Regions from separate parts of the Homo sapiens genome. Here all the other regions are linked to region 1. The links are contacts of gene promoters, found by promoter capture Hi-C in blood cells and fetal thymus (Javierre and others, 2016). All regions are on one chromosome and are shown on one strand. The core of a region is centred on a gene start or on the middle of the fragment in contact, and the rest is flanking DNA. Distances in the headings are between cores, read along the strand shown.

Region 1 (2,582 bases), core at 42-2,541:
GTCATGGAGATCTGGAGACAGAGAAAAAGAGAAGAGCAGAGAAATAGGATGGAGAGCCAGGCCTGACAGTGAGGTGCATACTCATATTTTCACGAGCATTTGGTTGTCAGACAGGGGCCCCCAACAGAACTCGCAAGAACCCCAAGGAGCTGCAACATTTGTTTCTGTTGCAATACTATTTGTTTCCGTTTGCGAATTATTGCAAACTCTGAATTAGGAGACCAGAATTAATAATATCACATGGTCATTCACAGATCAATCATTTCGTCTTCGGGTCTACCTTCAGAATCTTGAGCAAGTTATTTTCCCATTTGAGCCCCTCTTTCTTCACTTAATGAGGTGGCTTACAGTCCTAAACTTTAGACAGTTTATTATTCATTTACTGGGGAGGGAGAGGTTATGGAAACAAATGGAACTTTATTGACCAAGAAAATTTGTTTACATGAAATCTTTGAATCTTTCCCCATAGGTTTCCATTTAAAATTCTGTGTTCTCTGGGCATCATTTGGTTTAATTTGCGATCTGCAGTTCTTTTCCTGATGATGAGTTTGCCCTAGCCTGCCTGAATTCACAGTTTTCTTTTCCCTGCAGCCTGTTTGGGTGTCCTCGCGGTGACATCTCTGCAGAACTCTGGTGTGAGCCAAAGGCAGTGGTCGGATGGGAACGGCATCCAAGCTTGAGAGGGCGTGGGGGATACTCGGATTCTCGCGTTGGCCGGAGGGTGAGGTGTTAGGTTTGGCAAACACGAGCTCATCACCAGCCCTGGGGCCTGAAGAAGGGGAGGTGGGGGTGGGAGTGGGGACACTTCAAATCAATAACGGCGGTGACAGCGCGGGCTGGGTACCAGGGGACCGTTCCCTTTCTCTCTCCTATCAAAGCACTTGGGATAATCTAGTCTGGTGCTAATCACATTACCCAGGACCTGCTTTTCACCTACTTCTTGTGCGTTTAAGGAGTTGGGTAGGTGGTGCCCGATTCAGAAGACTCTGGAGCATGTGTGTGACAAAAGTTGCAGCACCGTGGCTCCGCTGACCTCATCCCGCTGTCCCGGGCCGGGCCGCTCTCCAGGCGCCCGGCCCCAGCCCCCTTCCTGCCCTCTCCCCGCCTCCGGGCCCGCCGCGCGGGGCCGGTGATGTCAACTGAGGAGGAGCCGCCCGCCAGCCAGCGACCCGCCCGGGCTAATTAGCATGTAGCGGCGCCGCGGGCCGCCTCCGCCCAGCCAGCCCGGCCCCCGGCAGCCCTCCCGCGGCTCCCGATAACTTTTGAGGCGGGGAGCGCGCTCGCAGCCTCACTCCGCTCACTTCCCCGGCCCCGCGCGGCCCCCGCCGCCCGCTGCCCGCTGCCCGCTGCCCTCGCCCCGCGCGCCGGGCATGTGAGCGCGGGCGGGCGCCGTCACCATGGCCTCGCCGCGCGCCTCGCGGTGGCCGCCGCCGCTCCTGCTGCTGTTGCTGCCGCTGCTGCTGCTGCCGCCGGCGGCCCCCGGGACGCGGGACCCGCCGCCTTCCCCGGCTCGCCGCGCGCTGAGCCTGGCGCCCCTCGCGGGAGCGGGGCTGGAGCTGCAGCTGGAGCGCCGCCCGGAGCGCGAGCCGCCGCCCACGCCGCCCCGGGAGCGCCGCGGGCCCGCGACCCCCGGCCCCAGCTACAGGGCCCCTGAGCCAGGCGCCGCGACACAGCGGGGACCCTCCGGCCGGGCCCCCAGAGGCGGGAGCGCGGGTGAGTGAGAGCCGGGAACCTGGCGCCTGGCCAGTCTGTGCTGGGGGCGTGGGCGCGCCCCGGGCTGCATCCCCAGCCGTAGGCCCCTCCGCGCGGCGCGACCCAGGGTGGGGGCTCCTCGCCCGGCGTGTGCGGGACCCTGAGGGTCGGCGGGTAGGGAGGGACGCTTTCGCAGTTGGCTGGACTGAGGGGTGTGACTATCCCGTTCTCCTCCAACCCTTTGGAAGAAAACTTATTTCCTATGGGGTACCCTGTATCTCTTCCACCCCACTTTAAAAAAAATGGAAAGGAAAGGGAAAAAGACTGCAAAGCATCTCTCCCACCTCCGATATCTGGCCAGCCGGTCCCCAGTTTCATTTTTTCCGCTATACAGAACTGGCCTCTCCAGGTACAGGGCTCGACTTTCTCATCTAAATAACTGATTTTTAAGGGGTTCTAGGACGGGATATTGTAAAGGACAAAGGATGTACGTAGTTTGAAACAAAACGCTCTACTGGTTCGACTTAAAAGCAAAGGAACGCGGTTGGGGTTGCATGGTTGAACCCCTGCAAGGCACAGGCTGATACAGGACCATCCCTGAGCCTCCTCCCTCCCCTTTCCTTTCCCAATGAACTGTTGCTCCGTGGTAGCCACCGCCTGTCCCACGCAGAGAGAAGGAACTGACCTCTTCTCCCTGCTACCTTTGTGTCCAGTTCTTTCTTATGATCTGGAAAAATATGCCACATACTGAGTGGAATTCTAACCATAATACCATTATGACCTTGGGACTGCTGTCTCTTTGCGCTCACTTTCTCCATCTGTGAAATGAAAGTGATGATCCCTGTTCCTTCTAGCCTCCTAGTGATGATGTGACAAAATGAAAGTAAAAA
Region 2 (2,582 bases), core at 29-2,528, 230 kb before region 1:
TCAAAATTTTAAACATAAAATTCTTCAGTTGTAATGGTGTCCATATGTTGGGGAAAAAAGAAAAGCAAAGATGTTTTATGGAACCAGTTGCAGGTAAGACTGCTAATCTCTAAGGCAAACACACTCAGCTGGTAGATCACATTCTACTAAAAGATCTTGAAAAGGTGTGAGCAAGAAAAGAAGGCAAGTCTATACCGGGGAAGAAAATTTTGCCTGCGTTAGTGTGCTATTTGTGTTCTGCTAAGGGATTTTATTCTTTGCCTACCCGCTTCTCTCACTACTCAGTTATCTGAAGACTAAAAAATTGAAAAGTAAAGTATTGCTTTTAGCAACAAATTTAAAAAACAAGAAAGTGGTAAGCTAGGAGGAGTAATTGTTATGGACAGCAGGCAGCCAGGTCCTTTGACAGGTATAGAGTCTCCACTATGCTCCAGATACCATTTTGAACACTGAGATTATAAGGGTGAATAAAAATCAGTTGGATATATTTAAAACAGGTTACAAATTGGAAGGGCCATTGATGCTCATCTGAGTCAAGATGAGTTTACTCTATGTCCTTTATTACTCTGGCCTAAAAAGAAAGTAAGGAAAATATAAAATGTCCAAGAATTTGGTGTTTCTGTCTTTGAACTTAAAAAAAGCTAGATTTTCCTGTGTGTTTATCCACAAGGCAGTGGTAGCTGTTTCATCCATAAAATTCACCTTGAATTAAGGCTTGAATCTACAATGAAAGGCAGCAGTACCTCCAGTGCCAGAAAACAATGACCTAGAACTCCTTAACTCTTCATAAAAGGGCTTTGTACAGTCAAGGATTACATCCGTTTCACATTAAGCAACTTGGGCCAGATTTGTTCTTTACAAAGCCTTTCCTTGCAGTTGCTATGCCACAGAAAGCTATTGAAGTGCCATGTTTTTTGGCAGTTGGATTTTCTTATTTGTTATCAACATACATGAAAAAAAATACCTGGTGCTGTCTTGTTTTTAGTTCCATTTTATATAAGTATTTAACATCTTTTTGTTTGTTTTATGTATAAAATATTTTGAGTCATATTTTAAAAGATTTTGTGTGTTTTCCTTTTGCACAGTGTTAACTTGCTTATTATTATGTGACTTGGAGGGGTTGAAAAAATTCAAAACTGACTGGCCCAGAGATGAAGCTTTCCACTTTCTTTGACTCTCCTCAGGAAGCTGTGACACCCACTTCCATTCTCCTGCCAAATGTTTCCCTTCCATGACTTTGGTGCATAGACTTTGAAGCATTGTTGACCACATTGGCTGTTTGCCCAGAATCCAAATGCCCTGTATAATTTGCATAATAATTACCACTGATCTGCATATAGTATAGGCTGAACTGTCTTCTTGAATTTAAAGTAAAAATGTTTTAAGGATTAAAGCTTTTTTCCCTTACGTACTGCCCTTTTCTAGGTTTGAGAAGGGGTCATAGCTGTGTGTTTGCAGGCCCTAATCAGTTTCCACAGTTCTTTATATTTATTTCCCAGATTTCTCTACCTTTGTTGGACAGTTTCTTAGCTCCCATTCTGTATGCCCACACCTACAGCATTGTTTCCCTCTCACTGGCCATACCCCTCCTGATCAGATCTTCTAGTTTTCTTTGCTGTTTCAGCATAATGTTGTGCCTTTTTTTTTTTTTTTTTGCTTTCGTCAATAATGAAAAAGGAATCATTATTTTCACTCTTCCACATGTCTGATGAAAGGCAATTTTTTTTTTTTTTTGAGATGGGTTTTACTGTATTGCCCAGGCTGGAGTGCAGTGGCATGATGATGGCTCATTGCAGCCTTGACCTCCTGGCCCAAGTGATCCTCCCATCCTCAGCCTCCCAAGTAGCTGAGAGTACAGGTGTGTGCCACCACACCTGGCTAATTTTTGTATTTTAGTGGAGACGGGGTTTCCTCATTTTGCCCAGGCTGGTCTCGAACTCCTGAACTGAAGTGAGCCACCCACCTCAGCCACCCAAAGTGCTGGGATTACAGGCTTGAGCCACCATGCCTGGCCAAAAGGCAGCTTAATGTTGCACATTGAACAAGTTGTTGATAAATTGGAATACATGCAGCCTAAGGTGAGTTTCTCTGTGGTACCATCCAAACCAGGCTTGCAATACTCTTAATCTCAATAAGCCCAGAAAGACAAGGTTGCTTTGTCTCTTGTCTTCCTTCTTTTTACCCACTTCTATTTTTTAAAAAACTGAATTTATAAGTGCTGAATAATTTTCTTATTCAGTACTTATGCCCCAGATGGACCCCATACCCACTTCTAATTTATTTATTTGACAAATATTCTTAGGAATATGTTTAATAATAATTTAGTAGTTCTAGAATAACCTTAGTGATCCTAGACTGAAACAGACCATAAATTCTACCATATTGTAACTTGAAAAGTTAGTGTTCTCTTTTTTTTTTAGTAATAGGTAACCACTTACATGGTTCAAAAAAATGTGTTAAGTGGACAGTGTAAAACCTCCCTCCCATTTTATCTCTTGTCTGCCCAGTTCCCCAGCCATCACAATCAAGGTTATATACTTCTGTATATATATCCTTCTCAAGTAGTTTTTATGCCTATGCAA
Region 3 (2,582 bases), core at 22-2,521, 210 kb before region 1:
AACATTTTAATATAAACTGAAGTGGATCTGCTAAGTTGTGTTACAGCGAATGGTGGGAAAAAAAATACATGTGGAACAGAATAGTTTAGTTGAACTAATTTACAAAGCTTGAGAAATACAAAGCATTTAAAGTTTATGGCCTTTCATGTTAGTATTTGTGACCAGTACTTTGTGAGAAACATTTGAATACATTATGTGTCATTGAACCAATAGTGTCAATAGTGAACTTCATTTGCTCTGGTGGGCTTAACCATTATCAGTGTTCCATGAATTTCTGTCAGCTATGGAAGCTGAATGTTCTGATTTACTCTATTATATAGCAGTTTAATATCTTAGAAGTGGTAAAGTCTTATTGGGAGCTTTTGAATGTAAAGCCAAAATTAAACTTTTTCTGAATTAATATCACCAATCTCAATCACTGAAGAATAGCTTTAGAAATTAGCTTCTGCTGAAGACTTGAAAATGTTTCTTAATAAATTCAGCCTGTTATTACAAGGGAAACCAGTGTTTATATGTGAAATTTCTCCCATGATAAAGTTATCTTGACAGCACCTAATATTGAATCACAAAATGCTGTTTTATGTACTTCCTATGCTATCAGTTAGAACAAGAAGCAAAATCTCCACTCTCACACAAATAGGCAGTGGATGTATTTTCCAAGCTCAAACTACAATTTCGTCAGATTTTGGACCTTGATGCAAGTGCAAAGAAAGTTTTCATATTTCAGAATCCACTTAATTGTGCAACTCTGCCTACTCTTTAATTGGAAGTAGTTAATGTCCAGTGTAATACATGATAAAAGGCAAATATCAGGGATCTAATAAAATTTTCTGTAAATGCCTTCCAAGTGGTGAATAATGCTTGATAAAATCACATTTTCATGGATTGATATCAGTATCTGTCTTTGTGACAAGACGGTTTCAAAGATGAAATGCATAAAATCTCATTGCAGATCAGCATTAACATACATTTACAATTGATTTTAATGATAGGGAATGCTAATTTTGAAGCCCTATAAAAGAGAATTCCAGCGTTTTCATTAGTAGAACTGTATGGTGAAAAGTTATGCATTATTATTATCATAGTTTGAATTTCATTAATAAAATTTTTGTGGAAATTGTTTTCTCTCTTATATGAGTTTGTATACAGTATCCTTGATTTTACCTTTTGGTCTACAAAGCTTAATATTATTTACTCTGTGGCCCTTTGTGTTAAAAAAAAAAAAAAAAAAACTTGTCAACCCCTGTCAGGTTATTTTGAATGCCCCACCCTCTCAGTTCTTAGACCTCTGTTTTCTTGGTGACACTGTCATTTATTCTTCCTCTGTCATGGTCATGTTAGACTAGTGCTCACCAAGCTTTAGTCTTCCTGTGACTGTAGTTTCTTATTTCCCAGGCACTCTCTCCTATCAGTCCTCCTCATGTCGTTTAGTACTTAGGTTTCAACAGTCCTTTGTCTTCACAAGGACCCACAATCCAGTGATTCTACCTCCTTTTCACTATCCCTCATTTTCCTCATATCTTCATTTTCCTTATTTAATTTAAATTGTCAACATTTATCATATTCACTACCTTGCTTACATTCATACCCTTGCCCTCTCATACATAGTACTTACGTTGGCTAAATTACAGCCATAAGTAAATTTAATGATCTTTTTATTCACCTGACTGTGTTACTCCAACAGAAAGCCACAGTGAATTAGGGTCACTTTAGATTTTAAGAGGGCCCATAATGACTTCTGGAAATGATTTCCTTAGTCCTTTCATTCTCCTGCTCATCCAGATTGGGTCTTTAGTTCAAACAATGGGCCAGCTCCACCTGTCTATTGTCGTAATTAAAATTTTATTGGAACAGAGCCTTACCAGTTCCTTAATGTATTATCTATGGCTACACAGCAAAGCTGAGTAGCTGTGACAGAGATCATATGGCCCCTGAAAGCCTAAAATATTTACTTTGTGGCCCTTTTAAAAGCTTGTCAGTCTTTCTCCTAAACAGGTGTTTCATACATTCTCCTTTCCATAAACCTCCAACACTTCCCCCACCCTGTATCAATCACTGAGCAAATTGAAGTAATCAGACGAGAAATTCAGTAAGTTTGTAGTACTTCTGCTTATCAATAAATCAGGAAGTTTTGATCTTTTGGAGAAACATGGGCAAATAGTGATTTATTTTATTTTGCAAAAAAGCTCAGGATTTTTTCCAATGTTTTGTTTAAGTATGTTTAGGTATGTATAGGTAGTTTAAATCTTCGTTTTCCATGAAGGGAAATATGTGTTGTTGACCTCAGACTTCTTTTAATGTACAATTTACATACAATAAGCTTTACCATTTTTAGTGTATAGTTCTGTGCGTGTTGACAGTTTTGTAACTACTACCACAGTCAAGATACAGACTAGTTCTGTCACTCCCCAAGGGTCCCTTGCACTTTTTGAAGTGAGCCCCTCTCCTACCAACACCCCATGACAAACACTGATAAGATTTTTGTCTCTGTAGTTTTGCCTCTTCCAGAACATCATATAAATTGAATTATATGGTATGTAGCTTTTTGAATCTGACTTACTTCACTTAGTATAGTGCATTTG
Region 4 (2,582 bases), core at 32-2,531, 190 kb before region 1:
CTACTCCTTAGGAGGATATTATGTGATAGGCTAGACCACAGGATGATGGTGTCTTGACCTTTGGGTGATGACAGTGGGAAGTGGAGAGAAGTGAACAGATTTGATAGGTATTTAGTAGGCTGAATCAGTAGGGCCTGTCAATTGTCCAAATATGGAGAGAGGATAAAGAAGAAAAAAGCTGTACAGTTCTCTCATTTGTGCAGTTTAGAGGGGAGAGGAGTGCCATTTGTGGCATAAGCTGTAAGTTGAAGATTGTATTAGTCCATTCTCACATTGCTGTAAGGACATACCCAAGACTGGTAATTTATAAAGAAAAGAGGTTTAATTGACTCACAGTTCCACATGGCTGGGGAGGCATCAGGAAACTTGCAATCATGGTGGAAGGGGAAGAGGCAAGTCTTACGTGGTGGCAGGTGAGAGAAAGCGAGCAAGAGCAGGAAAATTGTTTTAGAAAGCAGTCAGATCTCGTGAGAACTCACTATCAGGAGAACGGCATGAGGGGAAATGCCCCCATGATCCAGTCACCTCTCACCTGGTCCCTCTTTGACACATGGGGATTATGGGGATTACAATTTGAGATGAAATTTGGGTGCGGAACAGAGCCAAACCATGTCACAGTCCCTAAGTTTATTGTGGGATATGATGTATTTGAGATCCTTAAGTGTTACAGAAGTGGATATATTACATAAGCAGTTTGGATATGTGGTTTTGGAGATCTTGAGAGTAATTAAAGCTATGGATAGATGGGCTTCCCTTCATGCCAAAGAGAAAAATATAGAATGAGATAAGCAGAAAGCTTGTTTTGAAGAACTAAAACATTTCACATTTGGAAGGAAGAGGGTGAGCTGGAAAGACCACTGAGAAGGAGCAGTTGGAGAGGTTGAAGGAGTATGGATGTCATAGATGCCAAGGCAAAAGTGAGTTTCAAGAAAAAGAAAGGGATCACTTTGAGTTGAATGCTTGTTGAGAGGACTAGTAAGATTTCTGGGCCAGGTGCGATGGCTCATGCCTGTAATCCCAGCACTTTGGGAGGGCAAGGCGGGTAGATCACTTGAGGTCAGGAGTTCAAGACCAGCCTGGCCAACATGGTGAAACCCCATCTCTACTAGTAATACAAAAATAAGCTGGGCATGGTGGTGCATGCCTGTAATGCCAGCTACTCAGGAGGCTGAGGCAGGAGAATCACTTAAACCAGGGAGGTGGAGGTTGCAGTGAGCCGAGATGGCACCATTGTCCTCCAGCCTGGGGGACAAGAGCGAAACTCCGTCTCAGAAAAAAAAAAACAAAAAAGATTTCTGAAGAGACTTGGTTGTATTGGTGACCTGAGTGTGATTTACAAGAACCATTTTGATATGGTGGGTCATTGCAGCAGCCGGATGGAATGGTTTGAAGAGGGAAAGGAAGGTTTGCAGTTGCCAAAAATCAGATTAGTATGTCAAACCATAGTGAGCTAGATTATACATAAATCTTATGTCTTTATAACTCTCTCATATATAGTTTACCTTAACAGTTACCCATATATTATAGTAAAAATTTTTATCCATAAACAGCTGATTGTGTGCAATGTCAGAGTTACCAGGGAGAAACATCACATTGGGGAAACAGTCTCACTGGAAAACTGTTAGAAGAGAAACTTTAGGGCCCTTGGGTAGGGGAAAATTATCATTTTGTGGGACACCTGGAGATTGTTTTTTTCCTTACCGTGTTATTGCTTTCCTGGATGTAAAAAACATTTAAAATTTCTTGATACTTTTCAGATAAGCTTTTTGTGTCATTCTTGAAATCACTCAAGTGCTGTATAGATTTATCTTCCTTTTCCAGTAGAGAGGCTTTAGCCCTCAAGGGGAAAAATGATAAAGGGATTTTCTCAATAAGGGAATTTTTCATTTAAGTGTTTTTATTTTTCTCAGGAAAAATAGATATCAGTCATTTTATTCTTATTTCAAGAATCAAGAAACAGGTCAGACGTGGTAGTTCATGTCTGTAATCACAATACTTTGGGAGGCTGAGTTGGGAGGATCACTTGAGGCCAGGAATTCGAGACCAGTCTGGACACCGTAACAAGACCCTGTCTCTATAAAAAAAATTTTCTTAATTAGCTGGGCATGGTGGTGCATGCCTGTGGTCCTGGCTACTTGGGAGGCTGAAGTTGGGGAGGATCACTTGAGCCCAGGAGTTCACGGCTGCAGTGAGCTATGATTGTGTCACTCCACTCCAGCCTGGGTGCCAGAGTGAGACCCTGCTCTTCAAAAAAAAGAATCAGAAACATACGAAAGTACACACATCAGGAATAAGATGTAGAGCCCATTATCACTACTTCTTTTTAATTGTTTGAGAATAGTGGATGAGAAAAATAAGTTAAAAAATATTTTCTGCAAGCAATATGATTATAAACTTGGAAAACCCAAGAGGTTCAACTGAAAAATTACTGCAAATAAGTAAATTCATTAAAATAGCAGAAAACCATACCCTTTGTATAGCCACACACACATACGCAGGGAATAGAAGATATAACAGAAGAAAACACTCTTTTCACAATATCAATGAGAAGACAAGCCCAGGAATGAATTTAAGAAGATGTA
Region 5 (2,582 bases), core at 59-2,558, 160 kb before region 1:
TGATGCTGTCATCCAGGAGCCTGGAAATGCCAGAATTCTGCACTCAATTACAACTCGCACTTGCCATAACCTTCAAAAAAAATTCCGTAAAGTGGCACACAAGAATCAATGGCCAGTGGGAAACAAGGCACCCTCTTAATACAATATGTGCTATGCCCATTTCCCAAACCCTAGTATAGAAATGAGCTAGAGGATGTGGCTGGAACTGTAAGGCCTCTAGAGCCACTTCCTTCCCCTTGGCACCTTACCACCTCGTGCTGACCGGGGCATCTCAGTATATGAGAATCGAATGAATAAGGAGTAGGATGGCCAGGACTCATCAGTGAGCAGGTGGGCCCCAGCCCTTTTCTCACTGCTCCAGTTGCATAGGAGCAAAGAAAAGAAGAAGCAAAAAAGAGACATGTCCACATGTGAGGCTTAGTAATGGAAAATGCTCACTGCTGGATGGGGTTCAGTAAGTATTCTATGATCTAATCAATCAGGCCACTCCTGGAGGGCAGGGCTTGTGAATATTTCTCAAATTCTTTGGAACCCTCCCTCCCTTTACTACTACCACAGCCCAAACCACCTTCAGGTCTTGCCTGGGTTTCTGTAAGTTCCTGTACATGCATTCTTCTTGGCCTCTGGTTCTTGCTCCACATAACAGCCATGCGTCAGAAGCTTCCCAGTTGTTACTTGGAGAAACATGGCATTCCTTACCTTGGCCCTGTGAGGTCATCTGCTGCTCGTAGCCCCCGCCTTCCCTACAGTAAGGCTCTCATCCTCTCTCCTCTTTCACCACTGGACTGCTTTCAGCTTCGGATACTTGGTCATGTCCTCTTGGGCTACAAAGGCACTATTTTCTCTCTACACTCCATTAAACCTCCTACTCCCACCCCATACATCCCTTGGATTTCAGCCCTAGCATCACTTTCCCAGAAAAGCGTATCCTGATTTTCCTGATTAGGTCACATTAACCATTTCAGAATCTCTCTCATCACTCTGTACAGTTTCTCTAGCCTCTAGACGGCTGTTTGTAATGTGTGAGCATTTGATGAAAGTCTGTCTTGCCCGCCTGCCTGGAGCGGTCTTGCTTCCCACTCTGTGTTCTGTGTTGGCCACAGTCGGTGAGCAACAGATGTTTGGTGAATGTGGTTGAAGGAGGGGATGCAGGCCCCTGAGTTATATCCAAGGATGGAAAGAGAAGCTTGCCGGTCCGGCAGAAGAATCACTCGCAGGGAGTTTGAGGCTCTGGATAACTGCCGTAAGACCAGAAAACTGGACATGTGATTTTCAAAATGGGAGGGAAAATAGTGGATTGTGAAAACGAGATAGCTGATCTGGATTTCAGTCCCCAGTAAAATTCTAGAATGTTCATAACCACTCTGCCAGGTAGGCTCGGCAGGTCTTAATCATTAACTCCATGCTACAAGTAAGAAAATGGAAGCTTAGACACATTGGAGACCGTGGGCAAGGTCATAGAGTGAAGAGGGAGAATCAGGTCTCAGATCCAGACCTGACTTCTCTCATCTACACTCTAGACAGCCTGTCACTGGGTCTGCCGTAGATGGTATTTGAGGAAAAGCTAATGCTAATCACTTTGTTGTCACAGTCTAGTGAGGCTGCCACTGTCATCATAAAATAATCTGGACCCTGTTTCTCTGGCTCCTTTCTGCATCTACATTTTGTTTTGTGCTCCCACCAGGTCCCAGCCCATGACAGATGCCAGGTGGCTGATAGAGGCAGAATGACTTTCTCTTGTCAGGGCAAACCCCCAGAATCAACAAATAGCCTAGATCCTGGAGGAGAGACCTGTCCAACAGGAGCTGAACACCCGACACCAGGAAAGCTGCGGCCCTTCCCTCTCCACTCAGTCTTACCAGGGAAGCCAGAGGAGGAGACTGGCCTGCCCCAACTTCCCTGGGAGCCAGGCTCTCTCAGCCTGTGTGAGGGCTTGTGCTTTGTTCCGGCCTGCATCTCCCGAGTCACCCCCTCCCAGCTCCCCGGAATGCTGGGTGGCCCTCTGGCAGGACACCCTCTTGGACCTGGGGCTCTTGGAATTGCATGTCAAAGTCCATGAAGAAGGAAAACTTTTTTCTGTTTTATCTCTTCACCTGGATTAAAGAGGTTGCATTGTGCAGAGGAGAGAGCCTGGCATTGGAATGAGACCTATGTTCCAATCTCGGCTCCACCCTCAGAGCCGGCAAACCCTTGTGAGTGTGTGCAGAATTCCTGTGATTTTTTTAAATACGCAGGCTTGCCCCAGGGAGGTGCATCACAATGACCAACTAAAACATATATATGCAGTTTATATAATTACTCTCTTTAAATAGTAAATTACTTGTGCTGCCTTAGTGATATATCCACCTTCTCCCTGTCATTGAAAATTGTAACTACAATAAGACACCACTGCCAACAAGATGTATTCCATCTCTCAGGTGTTTTGAAGAGGGGAAAAAATACTATCGGGCTAGAAATCTCATGATTTTCAAACCTTGGCTGAGCATTAGAATCATCTGAGAAGTTTAAAGAAAATGCTGATTTCTAGGCCCCACCCCAGACCAATTAAGTAATTAAGTCAGAATATCTGGAGGTGGGTCCCC

The links. Contacts are between HindIII fragments. The CHiCAGO score rates a contact against its expected background, and 5 or more counts as called.
Region 2: a contact is called between a fragment that was not itself captured here and the fragment with the promoter of HEG1 in region 1, in 1 of 17 cell types (naive B cells). The highest score is 5.3, in naive B cells.
Region 3: a fragment that was not itself captured here is called in contact with the fragment with the promoter of HEG1 in region 1 in 1 of 17 cell types (naive B cells); the score reaches 5.1 in naive B cells.
Region 4: a fragment that was not itself captured here is called in contact with the fragment with the promoter of HEG1 in region 1 in 1 of 17 cell types (total B cells); the score reaches 6.0 in total B cells.
Region 5: a contact is called between a fragment that was not itself captured here and the fragment with the promoter of HEG1 in region 1, in 2 of 17 cell types (naive CD8 T cells and naive B cells). The highest score is 6.1, in naive CD8 T cells.

Annotation. Positions count from the first base shown.
Region 1 is chr3:125,054,706-125,057,287 of GRCh38, reverse strand. HEG1 (heart development protein with EGF like domains 1) reads left to right here and starts at 1,291. Exons shown (of 17, transcript NM_020733.2): 1 at 1,291-1,713. The coding sequence starts at 1,398. RefSeq lists an enhancer at 728-777 and silencers at 1,028-1,407, 1,488-1,577, 1,638-1,797. The HindIII fragment of the contact is 2,339 bases long and covers 678-2,582 here.
Region 2 is chr3:125,279,832-125,282,413 of GRCh38, reverse strand. All of the region lies in intron 5 of ZNF148 (zinc finger protein 148), which reads left to right. Among named protein-coding and RNA genes, the nearest start is that of SLC12A8, 68 kb to the right of the region's middle. The HindIII fragment of the contact is 237 bases long and covers 1,160-1,396 here.
Region 3 is chr3:125,260,476-125,263,057 of GRCh38, reverse strand. All of the region lies in intron 7 of ZNF148 (zinc finger protein 148), which reads left to right. Among named protein-coding and RNA genes, the nearest start is that of SLC12A8, 49 kb to the right of the region's middle. The HindIII fragment of the contact is 177 bases long and covers 1,183-1,359 here.
Region 4 is chr3:125,243,203-125,245,784 of GRCh38, reverse strand. The region is part of intron 7 of ZNF148 (zinc finger protein 148); the gene reads left to right. Among named protein-coding and RNA genes, the nearest start is that of SLC12A8, 32 kb to the right of the region's middle. The HindIII fragment of the contact is 966 bases long and covers 799-1,764 here.
Region 5 is chr3:125,218,920-125,221,501 of GRCh38, reverse strand. No RefSeq gene overlaps it. Among named protein-coding and RNA genes, the nearest start is that of SLC12A8, 7.5 kb to the right of the region's middle. The HindIII fragment of the contact is 240 bases long and covers 1,189-1,428 here.